3 separate regions of the Homo sapiens genome follow, and regions 2 and 3 are each linked to region 1. The links are contacts of gene promoters, found by promoter capture Hi-C in blood cells and fetal thymus (Javierre and others, 2016). All regions are on one chromosome and are shown on one strand. Each heading gives the region's core, a stretch centred on a gene start or on the middle of the fragment in contact. The rest is flanking DNA. Distances are from core to core; before and after follow the strand shown.

What was found. Contacts are between HindIII fragments. The CHiCAGO score rates a contact against its expected background, and 5 or more counts as called.
Region 2: a contact is called between the fragment with the promoter of ZNF569 here and the fragment with the promoter of ZNF528 in region 1, in 1 of 17 cell types (total B cells). The highest score is 5.5, in total B cells.
Region 3: a contact is called between the fragment with the promoter of ZNF420 here and the fragment with the promoter of ZNF528 in region 1, in 5 of 17 cell types (total CD4 T cells, non-activated CD4 T cells, total B cells and 2 more). The highest score is 7.7, in total CD4 T cells.

The regions. Positions count from the first base shown.
Region 1 is chr19:52,395,771-52,400,226 of GRCh38, reverse strand. ZNF528 (zinc finger protein 528) reads right to left here and starts at 2,378. Exons shown (of 7, transcript NM_032423.3): 1 at 2,323-2,378; 2 at 1,608-1,860. ZNF528-AS1 (ZNF528 antisense RNA 1) reads left to right here and starts at 2,470. Exons shown (of 7, transcript NR_125345.1): 1 at 2,470-2,765; 2 at 2,960-3,032; 3 at 3,475-3,617; 4 at 3,728-3,862. It also overlaps a transcript of ZNF880 not described here. RefSeq lists an enhancer at 1,867-3,066. The HindIII fragment of the contact is 5,447 bases long and covers 1-2,803 here.
Region 2 is chr19:37,466,022-37,470,607 of GRCh38, reverse strand. ZNF569 (zinc finger protein 569) reads left to right here and starts at 3,164. Exons shown (of 6, transcript NM_152484.3): 1 at 3,164-3,524. ZNF570 (zinc finger protein 570) reads right to left here and starts at 1,252. Exons shown (of 5, transcript NM_144694.5): 1 at 1,051-1,252; 2 at 221-304. The coding sequence starts at 253. RefSeq lists enhancers at 1,078-1,577, 3,294-3,343. The HindIII fragment of the contact is 12,295 bases long and covers 1-4,586 here.
Region 3 is chr19:37,077,183-37,081,829 of GRCh38, reverse strand. It overlaps ZNF420 (zinc finger protein 420), which reads right to left and starts at 3,397. Exons shown (of 5, transcript NM_144689.5): 1 at 3,260-3,397; 2 at 1,442-1,485. It overlaps LOC105372390 (a long non-coding RNA gene), which reads left to right and starts at 3,633. Exons shown (of 2, transcript XR_001754095.2): 1 at 3,633-3,732. RefSeq lists an enhancer at 3,322-3,561 and a silencer at 3,652-3,941. The HindIII fragment of the contact is 14,557 bases long and covers 1-4,647 here.

The sequences.
Region 1 (4,456 bases), core at 1,129-3,628:
TTAATGGGCAACAACTCCATCTGGGTATGCTGACCAAAATAATTCCCTTGAAGTAAAATCTGATGACACTGTGGAGGAGGGATGCCGTGGCATCAGGAGAGAGTGAATGGGGCTGGCCTGTGGCACACAGTCTCAGCATCAGCAGCAGCCAGGAGCAGGGACAGACAATTCCCAGTCACTACTAAGAACACAGTCCTAGAGACAGGTGAGTGGGCCTGTTGGAAAATTCTTCCCCTTACTGTTTGAGACAGGAAAAAACCACACTGTTTTTACTACTCTCACACCCAAAGGAGAATCCCTCACCTTTAGTGATCAAAATGTGTCTGTGGTTGTTCCTACACTGACCAGTTAAACTGAGTAAAATTACAGAACACCCAGGTGCTGTCTGACGAAGAACTGCTTGTTGGTGACAAGTAATTCCCATATTACTTTGGTGACCAGAGATGAGGCATTCTGTGTTGAGCGCTCTTTATTGTGTTCACTGTGAACACAAAAACACACTGGTTTTTCCTAACTTATACACTCACACCCTAGTCCATCCCAAGAAAAGAGAAGAGTGCCTTATAAATAGTGTTCCAATTCTCATCTTCATGTGTGGTTTTTTGTTTTTTGTTTTTTGAGATGGAGTCTTGCTCTGTCACCTAACCTGGAGTGCAGTGACACGATCTCGGCTCACTGCAACCTCTGCCTCCCAGGATTAAGCGATTCTCCTGCCTCAGCCTCCAGAGTAGCTGGGATTACAGGCGCAGGCCATCAGGCCCAGCTAATTTTTGTATTTTTACTAGAGATGGGTTTCACATGTTGGCCAGGCTGGTCTCAACTCCTGACCTCAAGTGATCCGCTCACCTCAGCTTCCCAAAGTACTGGGATTACACGTGTGAGCCACAGCTCCTAGCCTCATGTGTTCTAAACAAATTTTATATTATAGAAAAATTAATATGTCACAATTCAATCATAATTTCCAATCAACTCACCACTCATCTGTAACCAGGGTCCCCCTCTTTCCTCACTACTGTTTCCCTGCCTCATTCTGTACATATCTCTCATTCTCATCTTTTTTCCTAGCTCTTTTTTTCTCTATTTTCCCCTAGGATTCTGTTCATTTTGAGTCCCTCCTCTTCTCTTTGTCCCATTCTTCCCTCTATTCCTTCTCTCCCACCTGTTCTGATCCATTTTTACAACTTGTTTCACCTCTTATTCCTCTTTCTGCCCAATCTTTCATTGTCCCTAATCTCCATATATTTCTGCCTCTTTCCTCCCACATCTCAGCTCCCCTTGGGGTCTCCCTGTTAAATTCCATCTTCGATATTACACACCCCTGTCCCCACTCTCTGGCACCCTTAGATCCCAGGCCTCCCCCTGCTGTGGTTCTCCCTGTTCTCCTTGTGACCAGCTGCCCCCTCTGGCTGTCCCAGCACCACGCTGCTCTGTCTGACCTGGCTCCAAATCCCTCCTCCTCTCCCCCCTCTGTCTGAGAAGCCTTCCCTATCTTGTTGAATTTCGTCTTTCTACAGACCCAGGTTTGTCTATATTTTTACAGTTACTTTTCTCCCCTGCTATTTTCTCGGCACCTTCTTTCACTGTGCCTCTGCAAACCCCTCACTCACCTTCTACTTTGCCTTCTGTTAATGGGTCTCTCATTCTTCATTTCTCTTTCAAAATTTCTCTATTTCCTCTGCCTCGTTCCCATCTCTTTTTCTCCACACATTCACAGGGAGGGGATTGGAATAAGATGCCCACTTCCGGAAGAGCTCATTTTCTGTGGGCTGGAAACTGGCTCGAGAGAACACTGGATGTCAGGAGACTGAAGTCACCCCCCACACTCGGGGTCAGGAGAACCGGTGGCTGGAAAAGGGAGGCCTGGGGAACAGAGGGTCCAGATTAAGGAGCAAAAAGGCAGGAGTGGGTCAGGAGAGGGGTGGAGTCTGCAGAAACCAGGTCTGGGCAGAGGACGAGGCCTCTCGTGCCCTGTTGGGGCGCTGAGCTCTAGGGGCAAAGAAGGGCGAGGCTAGGGGAACGGAGAGTGAGGATTTTACGTGGTGCGGGGCGTGTGTAGGGGTTACTAAAGGATTTGAAGCAGGTAAACCCCACGATAGGAGGTGTCTACGTGGGTAAATGACAAAAAGACCGGGCACACGACCAGCCTCCAAGCGATTTTAACACGCAGAAAGCGACTCCCAGACTCTCAAAGGATGTCTGAATTTACTCGGGGTGGAGGGAGCGGTGCCGGGATTTCAAGGTCTGCATGCCCCTCAGCTCCCGGGTATAGAAGCAGAGAAGAACTGGCTAGCCTAGACTTAACATAGACAAAGGGAAACTCACGCACTGCTGCGAAAACAGTTTCTCCCTGCAATCGGCTTCCGGGTCTACCGGAAACTGCGCTCTAGGCGTTCGCCCCCCGCGGTCCGCTTCCGGGTTTGCACGAAATTGCGCGCGCATCCTAGAGGCCGGACTGGCTGGGACCAGGGCGGGCCGGGACAAAGCCTGGGCCGGGCCTGCGCTTCCGTTCGCTTGACTGGCTGCGCTTGTTTTCAGGGTTTTGGTCTGAAAACGGATCTTACCTGCGCAGAGCAAAATCGGTTGTAGATTATATCCACGAAAATTCCTTCTATTAAAATGAATTTCAAGTCCCACCTACCCTGGAAGCAGAAAGAGAGAGAAGAGAGAGAGTAAAGAGAAAGAGAAAAGAAAGAGAAGTTGAAAAAGAGAAAGAAAACCAAGAAAGAAAGAGAAAAAAACCGAAAATAAATGGACAAGAAAGAAAAGTAAGGAGGGAAGGGAAGGGAGGAAGGGAAGGGAAGCTTTAGGAATTGAATTAACACACTTTGGAATTGTCTGTGAAGGGGATGATGCAAGCTAAAATGTGAAATGCAAAACCCTGCCAGGGTAGAATGTTCTATTTCATGCCAGTGCCCATAGAAGATAAATACTTTTCATTTATCTTCCCCATTCACTCTAGACGGTGAAGGTCAACCCTGTGCTCAATTCCAGAGACTTTCCTAGGGACATCGTGTTGGGCATGGAGGACTAAGGCCAGTGTGAAGATAAGTCACCGATTCTTTAAAAAAAAAAAGCCAGTAACTTATAAAAATAGCCATAAACGACGTAGTTTTTTGTTGTTGTTGTTGTTTTGAGACAGCGTCTCCCTCTGTCCCCCAGGCGGGAGTACAGTGGCAGGCACTCAGCTCACTGTAACCTCCGCCTCCTGGGTTCAAGTGATTCTCTTGCCCCAGCCTCCAGAGTAGCCACCACGCCCGGTCCAACTTAGTTTTTTAATACTTTTTAAAATTTTAAGACAGGGTCTCTGCCACCGAGGCTGAAATGCAGTGGCGCAATCATAGCTCACTGCAACCTTGACTTCCTGGGGTCCTGGGCAGGTGACCCCCTGTCTCAGCCTGCCGAGTAGCTGTGAGTAAAGGCCTGTGCCTCTCCACTGTGCTAATTTTCTACTGTTTGTTGCTTTGTTTTTAATAGAGATGTAGTCTGGTTTTGTTGCCCAGGCTGGTCTCCAGCTTCTAGCCTCAAGCAGTCTTCCCATCTGCTCCTACCAAAGTGCTCGGATTATAGGCATGAATCACCTTGCATGGGAGATAAGGACCCCCACATCAAGCCCTCAGGTTATTTTTGAAACACAAATACATAAGGCCCACAAGCAGGCCCATTGGCTGCAGACAGTGGGGTCACCTGAAGAACTTTTCTTTGATCTGAGTACCAACTTCTCACCTAGGTCACTGGGATCCTGGACTACGGCACTGCTCCAGGCAGGCCTGGTTATCCTGCTTGAGGCAGCAATCCTCTTGAGCCTAGTGAAATGCAACTGGCTGTACCTCAATGATGTTGCCCTGAGATTCTGCCAGTCGAGGTATTACTTCAATCTCCTGAGACCAGCCTCTACCTCCAGATCCAGGGAGGTCAGTGCACATGTAAATGGACTAGCTTTATTAAAGGGGATATCTGGGCCAGGCGTGGTGGCTCACGCCTGTAATCCCAATACTTTGGGAGGCCGAGGAGGGCAGATCACCTGAGGTCGGGAATTAGAGACCAGCCTGGTTAACATGGTGAAACGAAGTCTCTACTAAAAATACAAAAAAAAAAAAAAAAAAAATTAGCCAGGCATGGTGGCACACGCCTGTAGTCCCAGCTACTCGAGAGGCTGAGACACAAGAATTGCTTGAATCTGGGAGGTGGAGGTGCAGTAAGCCAAGATTGCGCCACTGCACTCCAGCCTGGGAGACAGAGCGAGACTCCGTCTCAAAAAATATAAAAATAAAAGGGATATCTGGATTGGCGGAGAGACTGCAGGACAGCATTCAAGTGGGGTTGAATTGGCCCAGTTGCATCTGACTTCTCACTTGTAGTTCCCAAGAATGAATATAGAATGTGCTGGAAAAGCAACATCCTGAGAGGAAGGGACCGGTGAGAAAAGGACAGGATGTGTTCCAGATCCCCAGAACAG
Region 2 (4,586 bases), core at 1,915-4,414, about 15 Mb after region 1:
AGATGAAGTCAGAGGGACAGTCAGGGACCAGATTATGCAGGGCCCTGCAGGTCAAGACAAGGACTTACGCGTTTATCTTGAATAAGATGGGAATCCAATGGAGAGTGTTGATAAGGGACATGACTGGTTACCCAGAAACGTTTCAGCAGAAGGAAAATTAGTACCTGCTTGTTTTGAAAAGCAGACAGGTATTCAGGAAATCGAGAAAACACCAACACACCTGGTACATGGCTTTAAGAAGCCCAACAGCCATTCTTTCTTCCTCCTGGCTCTTCTCTTGGGAAATAGCAGTGGCCTCAGATGACTGAGATGGGGAAAAGAACATGAGAAACTAGACTTTTCTTGCAGCATCCAGAATCACCAGTCTAGACTTTTTAGGATTCTCTTTCCTCCTCTTGCAACCTTCCCTCCAATAGAGAGAGCATAATGGAGACCTAGGAATTTGTTTGCATACAATTTAACTGATGCCTAAATCATTTCCCAATTCCTTAGGTTAACAACAGATGTTCTAGGCTTTACAAATACAGACTCAGAGGAATGTAAGTTTTCACATAAAGACACAGAACTAACAAATAAGAGCACCAAGATCAAATAAAAGAGGACCTGACCCCACAATCCTCCTCTCCAATAAATCAGTGATTCTGAAACTTGGTGGCACATTGATATGACTTGGGCTGGCTTTAAAAGCCTCTCCGTGGCACACAGTCTCTCACTCAATCCCCCACATAATCAGAGTCTGAAAAACTACAGTGCCAACCACCGTCTTACCCACGCCACAGTCAGAGGCCATGGGTATGGACTGCCTCACACGGGCACCCTTTCCCATACCGGCAAGGCTCAGCCACCAGGGTATCTATCACAAGCGACAATCTCACAACCCAGTCACAAAGAAGCCGCGGGTATCGGCCCAACAAGGTGCAGCGAACAGTCGCCCGCTCCCGCCTCAACTCACAGCCTCACATTCCACGGTGCCATTGACTTCCTCGCACCCAGTCACACAGGACGTGGACAGGCACACGGGGTGACAGCCTCGCACTGAACGGTACCAACCTCCACTCGCACCGGAGTCACACAGATGGCCTGCGACGAGCTTCCGGAGACCCACACGCCACTCCTCAGCCCACTCCCGACCTGCAGAACAGAACTGGTGGAAGATCTCCTTCCTGCCCCGAAGGCTCGGGGAATCTGCACTCGGGTCTCACCGCTACCCTTAGTTGGATGGAACCCAGCCCTTACGGGCCCGGAAAGAAGCGCCTCAGCTGCCTCCGCCCCCGGAGGACACAAAGGGGCCGCCGGCCCAACTCCCGCGGGGTCCGCTGGGAAACGTAGTCCGGAGTAGAAAAGGTCGCGGCGTCGCAGTGTCTGGCAGCAGCGGTGCAGCTCCGCGCAGGGTTTGTAACACGGCCTCCTCCCCACCAGGTCCTCCCACACTGGCCTCTCCCCGGCCTTCCAGAGAGCCCGAAAGTCCGGATTCCCTGCAGCTCCGAGCCTGGCCCGGTCACAGGGACGGGGCCCAGCGTCACACTACACGGGCTGGTGTGGAAGTGCGCAGGCACAAGCGCTCTGCGCGCCTCCCTTAGCAACCAGGGCGGGGAGTTGAGAATCGCAGGTTGGCCGCAGGGAAAAGGTTTGTGCGTGGGAACGCGCTAGTGGCGCGTCTACTCAAAATGGGTGGGAGGCGAATTCCTAGAATTGTGCTGGATACCCGAAAAAAATTGGGAGGGGAGCGGGGTGGGGGGGATGCAGGGTGGTAAACTGCGCAAGCGCACTACACTCCTGGCAGTCTCCCACCCGCTACCCTCAGCCTGGCACGGTGGCTCACGCCTGTAATCCCAGCACTTTGGAAGGCCAAGGTGGGCAGATCACGAGGTCAGGAGTTCGAGACCAGCCTGACCAACATGGTGAAACCCCGTCTCTACTAAAAATACAAAAAAATTAGCCGGGCGTGGTGGCACGCGCCTTAAGTCCCAGCTACTCAGGAGGCTGAGGCAGAAAAATTGCCTGAACCTGGGAGGCGAAAGGAGGCGGAGGTTGCAGTGAGCCGAGATCGCGCCACTGCACTCCAGCCTGAGCGACAGAGCAAGACTCCGTCTTAAAAAACAAACAAACAAAAACCTCGTGACCTCAAATGATCCGTGCGCTTTGCCCACCCAAAGTGCTGGGATCACAGGCGTGAGCCACCGCGTCCGGCCTATTATCTCTTTATTAAAGGTATTAAGACCGGCCCCGTGCGGCTCATGCCTGTAATCCTAGCACTTTTTGAGGCCCAGGCGGGAGGATCGCTTGAGCTCAGGAGTTCGAGAGCAGCCTGGGCAACATAGCGAGACCTTATCTCTACTAACAAACAAACAAAAATCAGCCGGGCGGAGTGTCCCTTGATTGTGGTCCCAGTTACTCGGAAGGCCGAGGCAGAGAATCGCTTGAGCCCGGGAGTTCGAGGCTGCAGTGAGCCAACATCGCGCCGCTGCACTCTCCAGCCTGGGCAACAAAGTGAGGCTCTGCCTCAAAAAAAACAAAACAAACAAAAAAAAAAAAACACGAAAGGCATAGAGAAGTTAAGTACCTAGTCTGAGATGACACAGCTAGTAAGGCCAAGTCTGTTTAGAAGTCAGGCGGTCTGGCCACACTACTTTTCGCTCACGATCCCGGGTCATGAAATCCAATAACACTGTCACACTCACAATCGAGAAGTCCAGAAAGAACAAATACATGCACATTGTCTCTGACAAAACTGCAAGGTCAGAATCAAACAGCCACGAGAATATAAAACGCGACCATGGTCACACAAAAGGTCGCATATTCGCACGACCTCAGATGTCACTGGACAGGGTCTCTCGCCCTGGAAACCCCACTCCAAATTCCATGGCCGAAGTTTCACACATACAGTCACACTACGTCACTCCTCCCTCTTCTAGCCGCTGTCAGGACCTTAAGGCTCCAGCTGACCCGGCCTTCACTGGCCCTGGAGCTCTCACCACCTTCACCCCGCTGTATTCTAGCCTCAGGTAGAGACCCAAAAAGACGGAACTAAACACACTGAGCCGGGCTTCCTTCACGGACCTTGCGAACCTGCAGCTCCAGCCGACTGTAAGAAGGAAGTGCCTTTTTGCAGGTGGGGTCGGGGAAGTAGGGCCGCGAAGGCCTCTGGGAAATGTAGTTCGGCGCAGGAAGCAGCGGAACGATTCGATTCTTCTCAGCACCAAGTTGCGCTCCCAATCTCTCAGAGCTGGGCTCGCGGGAGGCCGCTCGTGCAAAACCTAGGCTGAGCTCCCCTGCGCGGAGCTGTGAGCCCTGGAACACCGTGGTCTGCTTCTCAGGACGCGCAAACAGTGAAGCCAGTCCCGCCCGGGTGAGCCGCGGGGGCCTCTGGGAAGCGTCGCCCCTGGTGTAACGGACCGAGACTTGTGGCGCTCTCAGCCACCGACAGCGCCGGCCTCAGTGCCGCCTCTGTCCCAGCCCGCGCCGGCTCTGCCACTTTGGCAGCGTTAAGTGTGGAATCGGGGCCTGTGTCCGCGGGCTTGGTGGTGAGTCCTCGGGAAACCGCTAGCTCTGAGCGCCGGACTCTTTGTGCTGGGTGGGAGTGGGGGCCCGCGGTCCTGGTGCCCCAATCTTTGGAGGAGGACGCCGGGCGGGGCGATGCCTGTGCTTGTGGTTCCCTGAGGCAGTGGGAGTGGCGTGTGAAGGACTGTGAGAGTCTGGCGTGAAGTGACTGTCATTTGCCAGACATTCGTCTGGCTGAGTGTGGCCCCGGGATCGTGTCCGTAAGCGGATTTCGTGGAGGCGCTTTCCCTTTTATCTTTCAGTATGAACCTGCGTGCAAACGTGCATGACAGTGGGATCTTGAATGAATGAAAAACTGTGGATACAAGGTAGGGTGTGCTTGTGGGTGTAGATGTGTGAGACTTGGCGTTTGTGCCAGCGCTGCATGTCTTTAGCTTTGGTCATTGGAAATACGTTGTTTTTTTGTTTTTGTTTTTGAGATGGAGTTTCGCTCTCGTTGCCCAGGCTGCTGGAGGGCAATGGCGCGATCTTGGCTCACCGCAACCTCCGCCTCCTGGGAAGAAGCAATTCTCCTCCCTCAGCCTCCCGAGTAGCTGGGATTACAGGCGCACCACCACGCCTGGCTAATTTTGTATTTTTAGTAGAGACGGGGTTTCTCCATGTGGGTCAGGCTGGTCTCGAACAACTGACCGCAGGTGATCCACCCGCCTCGTTCTCCCAAAGTGCTGAGATTACAGTCGTAAGCCACCGCGCCCGGCCGGAAATATGTTTTTATATGAAACATCGATATCCCCAACACTTTAATATTTATTTATTTTTAATTTTATTTTCGTGTATTAGCTACGTTGTTTTGTGTACTTACTAAACTCATTCTCCTCCTTCCCTACTCCACCCCATTTGGGGAGTGGAGTGGGGTGGAGAAAAATACAGAAAAGCTCGAAGAACAAAAATCATTCATAGTTCTACAGGCCATGCAACTACTGTCAAAATTTACTTTCCATCTTTTCACCCCCGCCTTTGTGTATACATACGTATACATTCATATGTTCTATATGTGTGCATAATGGCTTCAAAATTGCAGTAAC
Region 3 (4,647 bases), core at 2,148-4,647, about 15 Mb after region 1:
TCACACCTGTAATCCCTGCACTTTGGGAGGCCGAGGTGGGCAGATCACCTGAGGTCAGAAGTTTGAGACCAGCCTGGCCAATATGGTGAAACCCCATCTCTGCTAAAAAAAAAAAAAAAAAAAAAAAAATACAAAAATTAGCTGGGCATGGTCGTGCCCGCCTGTATTCCCAGCTACTCGGGAGGCTAAGGTAGGAGAATCACTTGAACCTGGGAGGTGGAGGTTGCTTGAACCTGGGAGGTGGAGGTTGCAGTGAGCCAAGATTGGGCCACTGCACTCCAGCCTGGGTGACAAAGCAAGACTCTGCCTCAAAAAAAAAAAAAATACATGAAGCAGAAACTGAAAGAAACTACAAGGAGAAAAATCCAACAAATAAAAACTCAGTAAAGATATGGAAGATTTAAAAAATACTATCAACCTACCTGACCTAGTTGACATTTATAGAACACTCCACCCAACAACCACAGAATATAGTCTTTTCAAGTGCACATGGAACATTTACTAAGATGCATCAAATTCTGGGTCATAAAACAAATCTTAATAAATTTAAAAGGATTAAAATCATATGAAGTATATTCTGTGAACACAATGTAATGAAATTAGAAATCAGTAACAAAAGATCTCTGGAAGATCCTCAAAATATTTGAAAACATGACACATCAAAATAACCTATAAGTCAAGAAATCAAAGGGGCAAATTAGAAAGGATTTTGAACTGAAGGTAGAATAAATGAAACAAGATTGGAAAGTAATCGCTTTTTTTTTTTTTTTTTTGAGACAGAGTCTCGCTCTGTTGCCCAGGCTGGAGTGCAGTGGCGCAATCTCGGCTCACTGCAAGCTCTGCCTCCCAGGTTCACGCCATTCTCCTGCCTCAGTCTCCCGAGTAGCTGGGACTATGTGCATCCACCACCACGCCCAACTAATTTTTTTTTTTTAATTTTTAGTACAGACGGGGTTTCACCTTTTTCCAGGATGGTTTCGATCTCCTAACCTCGTTCCATCCGCCTCGGCCTCCCAAAGTGCTGGGATTATAGGCATGAGCCACCACACCTGGCCGTGATCGTTTTTAAGCTAGGCATATTCATTATACTTTTGTGTACATTTGAAACTTTCCATAACAAGCTAAAAAAAGTTAAAAAATCAAAATGGTGCTGTATCAGAAATAACACAATAGAGCTCTTTCCCTTTTTAAATAACACAATAGAGCTATTTCTCTCTTCCCCTTTTTAAATCCATGAGTCTCAAATCCATTCTTCGTAAATTTAACCACTATTGGGGAAGCATCTATCCCGATTAATGGCACATTTTCTTTGCTCTCAATCTACCAAAAATTGCCTTGCCCCTCTATCATTTGAGAAGGCAAGAAATTTCAAAAAGAAAACAAAAATGTCTATGTCCTGTAATAACAAAGGTATTTCAGGAAACAAAGAGGAAATACTCACCTTGGACATTGCTACTGAAACAGCCATTCTTTCTCCTCTGGGCTCTACTCTCAGAAAAAGAAAAATGGAATGAGATATTAGGCCTTTCTTGGGGAATATGCTAAATTATAACATACCCTCTTCCTCCATCCTCTTAATCTCATTTAACATAAAGAAAAGTCAGGAGGAGACTAGAATAAGTCTTCTACCTTCTGTATCAGAAAGAAGGGCCAGGTCACAGCTGTCTTGGGCTTGAATTTATTTCTGTATTCAAAGCTGTACACTGGAGACAGTCCTGCAGTGGGGTGCTTCAGGTTCAGAACTGGGTGGCTGTCTCCTAAAGCACTCCCTCTGAAACTATTCCCACTCCTGGAGTCCCATTATATTTCCAGTGGCCTATTTATTTATTTATTTAGAGAATGAGTTTCACTCTTGTTGCCCAGGCTGGAGTGCAGTGGCTTGATCTTGGCTCACTGCAACCTCCGCCTCCCGGGTTCAAGCAATTCTCCTGCCTCAGCCTCCTAAGTAGCTGGGATTACAGGCATGCGCCACCACGCCCAGCTAATTTTGTATTTTTAGTAGAGGTCATGGTGAAACCATGACCTCAGGTAATCCACCCGCCTCTGCCTCCCAAAGCGCTGGGATTACAGATGTGAGCCACCGCGCACAGCATCCAGTGGCTGTCTTGAAGGTATTATCAGCCCTAAAATTCTCATCCTAAGACCAGGTCTGTAACTTGCAAATAACTCCTATTCATCACTCAGGTGTCCAAATGTCTGACTTCCTTACTTCTTGCCACTTCCCTGCACCCAATCCCCTTAAGGCTATAAGGCAAGAGGACGCAGGGAAGAAGTCGTGAACTCGTAAGTAACTACATTTCCCAAGGTGAACCGAGGATGGATACAGAAATGAAGCAATACAGGCCATGGATGAAAGGGCAGCCACTGTGGTCAAATCAAAAAGTCCTTAAGTCCTCAGAGCCACATGGGAGGAGCACAGAGCCACATGGGACTCACAATCCATAGGCAGACCTCAGCCCCAAATGAACCCCAGAAATACCAAAAAGAAATTTACTTCTGTACTGGACTAAACCCCCATAAGGTCACAGAATATACAAATGGCCACATAAAGTCACACATAATCACATTTCCACAGTTACACAGCTAGAGGCACAATCACCCAATTATGCTACATTGTTAGACCACCTTGTCTCAAACAAAATCCCATTAAGTACAAGGCATATAATTACATCCAAGCACCTTGTCAGAGACACATACCGCCAAAAACACCCTTTCAAAGCTGCAATTTTAGTCTCTTTACACAGTCATGAAAACAGCACACACAACCCCACAGTCACACACAATCAGACAGTCACCCAACCCAGTACGAAATCAGGGAAACACGCGGTAATAAACACCGTGTCACAGCAACACTGTCACACACCTTAAATTTACTGGCAAATCCATCCCACGATATCAGGTTTACACACAACCTCAAAGTGACACAAGAACATCCAAACACTCTTGTCACAACTGTCACACACTTCATAGTCACAGGCAAACCCCAATTATACACGCGGCACACATAAAATCACAGTCACATAAGTATATCCCAGCCAGGTAAGCAAACAGTCACAAACACCCTCAGAGTCACAACTCACACTCATACAAATGCTCATACACAAAACCACAGCCACACACGTCCAGTCGTGTATGCACAGGCAGTCGCCAATACCAGGCAGGCTGTAGCCTGCACACAAAACCGGAGACACGGCCACACGAGTAACCCCAGCGACGCTTTCTCCGCGCGTGTCCGCTCCGGCATCCCGGACACTCCTACCTTGACAGAGGTGCAGTTCAGGGTCCAAGATCTGGCTCCCGGGTTCCAAGCCCAATTTCGGGTTCGCCAGCCCAGCAGGTGCGGAGCCAAGCTCCTCCACAGACGCGGCCCTCTCCCCACGCGAGGCCTCCAAATCTCGCAAACTAACGGAAATGAAGCTACGCTCCGGGAGCGGTGCCTCTGGGAAATGTAGTCCAGCGCTCCGGACGCCGTGCCTCTGGGAAATGTAGTCCAGCGCTTGGCTAGCCGGCCAGAACGCCAGGAGGCCCGGGCCGCTCACCCCTCGAGGGGCTCGTGGGCTCGGCCTGTGGAACCTGCTTGTCCCGCCTGCAGCGCCCCGGAGGTTTCTGGGAGTGCCCGCCCGCCCGCGCTCAGTGCGCAGGCGTCAGACGCTCAGGGCCTGCGAGAGCGAGCTGAGTGGTCCCAGGGTCTACCCCTGGCAGGAGAGAGGGTGGGACCCGCCGGCCAGGCAGGTGCGGGGGAGGAGCTGGGGCCGGTGCGGGGACCCGCCGGAACCTCGGATTTGCAGAGGACCCTGTGTGTGCCCTCCCAGGCCCTTGGGGTGTGTGTGACAATGGGAGATGCCAGGTGGACTGAGAGTCTTTCCGTGGCCGGGTGTGTATGGTTGTGTTTCTGCCTGTGTGTGATTCTTCCTGCTGTGGGGTGTGAGGTGATTTGTACTTTAAGCTGCGTAGTAATGGGATTTTATAACTGTGTAGAATCGTCTAACAGAGTAAGACGATTTTACACAGATCTCTATTGTGGTTTGCTTATGAAGGGTATCTGTATGTATATCTGCTTTTTTGTGTGTGGCCGTAATTGAGTAACTGGTGATCTGTGTTATATAAACGTGCTTTCTTTGTGCTTGTATTTCAGTGTCTGTAAGGGTGCCAAGAGCAAATGAGCTGTGTGTGATCGTGTGTGACAGTGAAAATACTATGGCCAAGTTATTTCTTCCTTAAATAGTAATGTAATAATCTGGAAAAGATAATCAATTTATCTGACAAGTAATTTAGACATCATTTTTCTATTGGATCAAATATATGTGTTATCGGGAAGAATCCAAAATTAACGTAGTTTTTTCTTTGTTTTTAGAAAGATTATTTCAAAACCAGTCCTAGGGTAACTGCCTTTTCCTCTGCCACAGCAGGCCAAAAGTAGATATCCATTATTTTCTAATTAGAGGGTAAAGTTTCTCTTATTACTGGGTACGGTTGAGAGGCCATCAACTAATAAAATAATAAAACAACGTTATACATAAGAAGAGTGAATTTTAGCACAGTACAGCACTAGTCAGATTTCCCAAATTCTAGGTCAAACACTTGTCCTCATTTTCTGATGAGAAAACCTTGGCCGGCAGAAAGTAACTTAAGGCTGTAGAGTTTGTT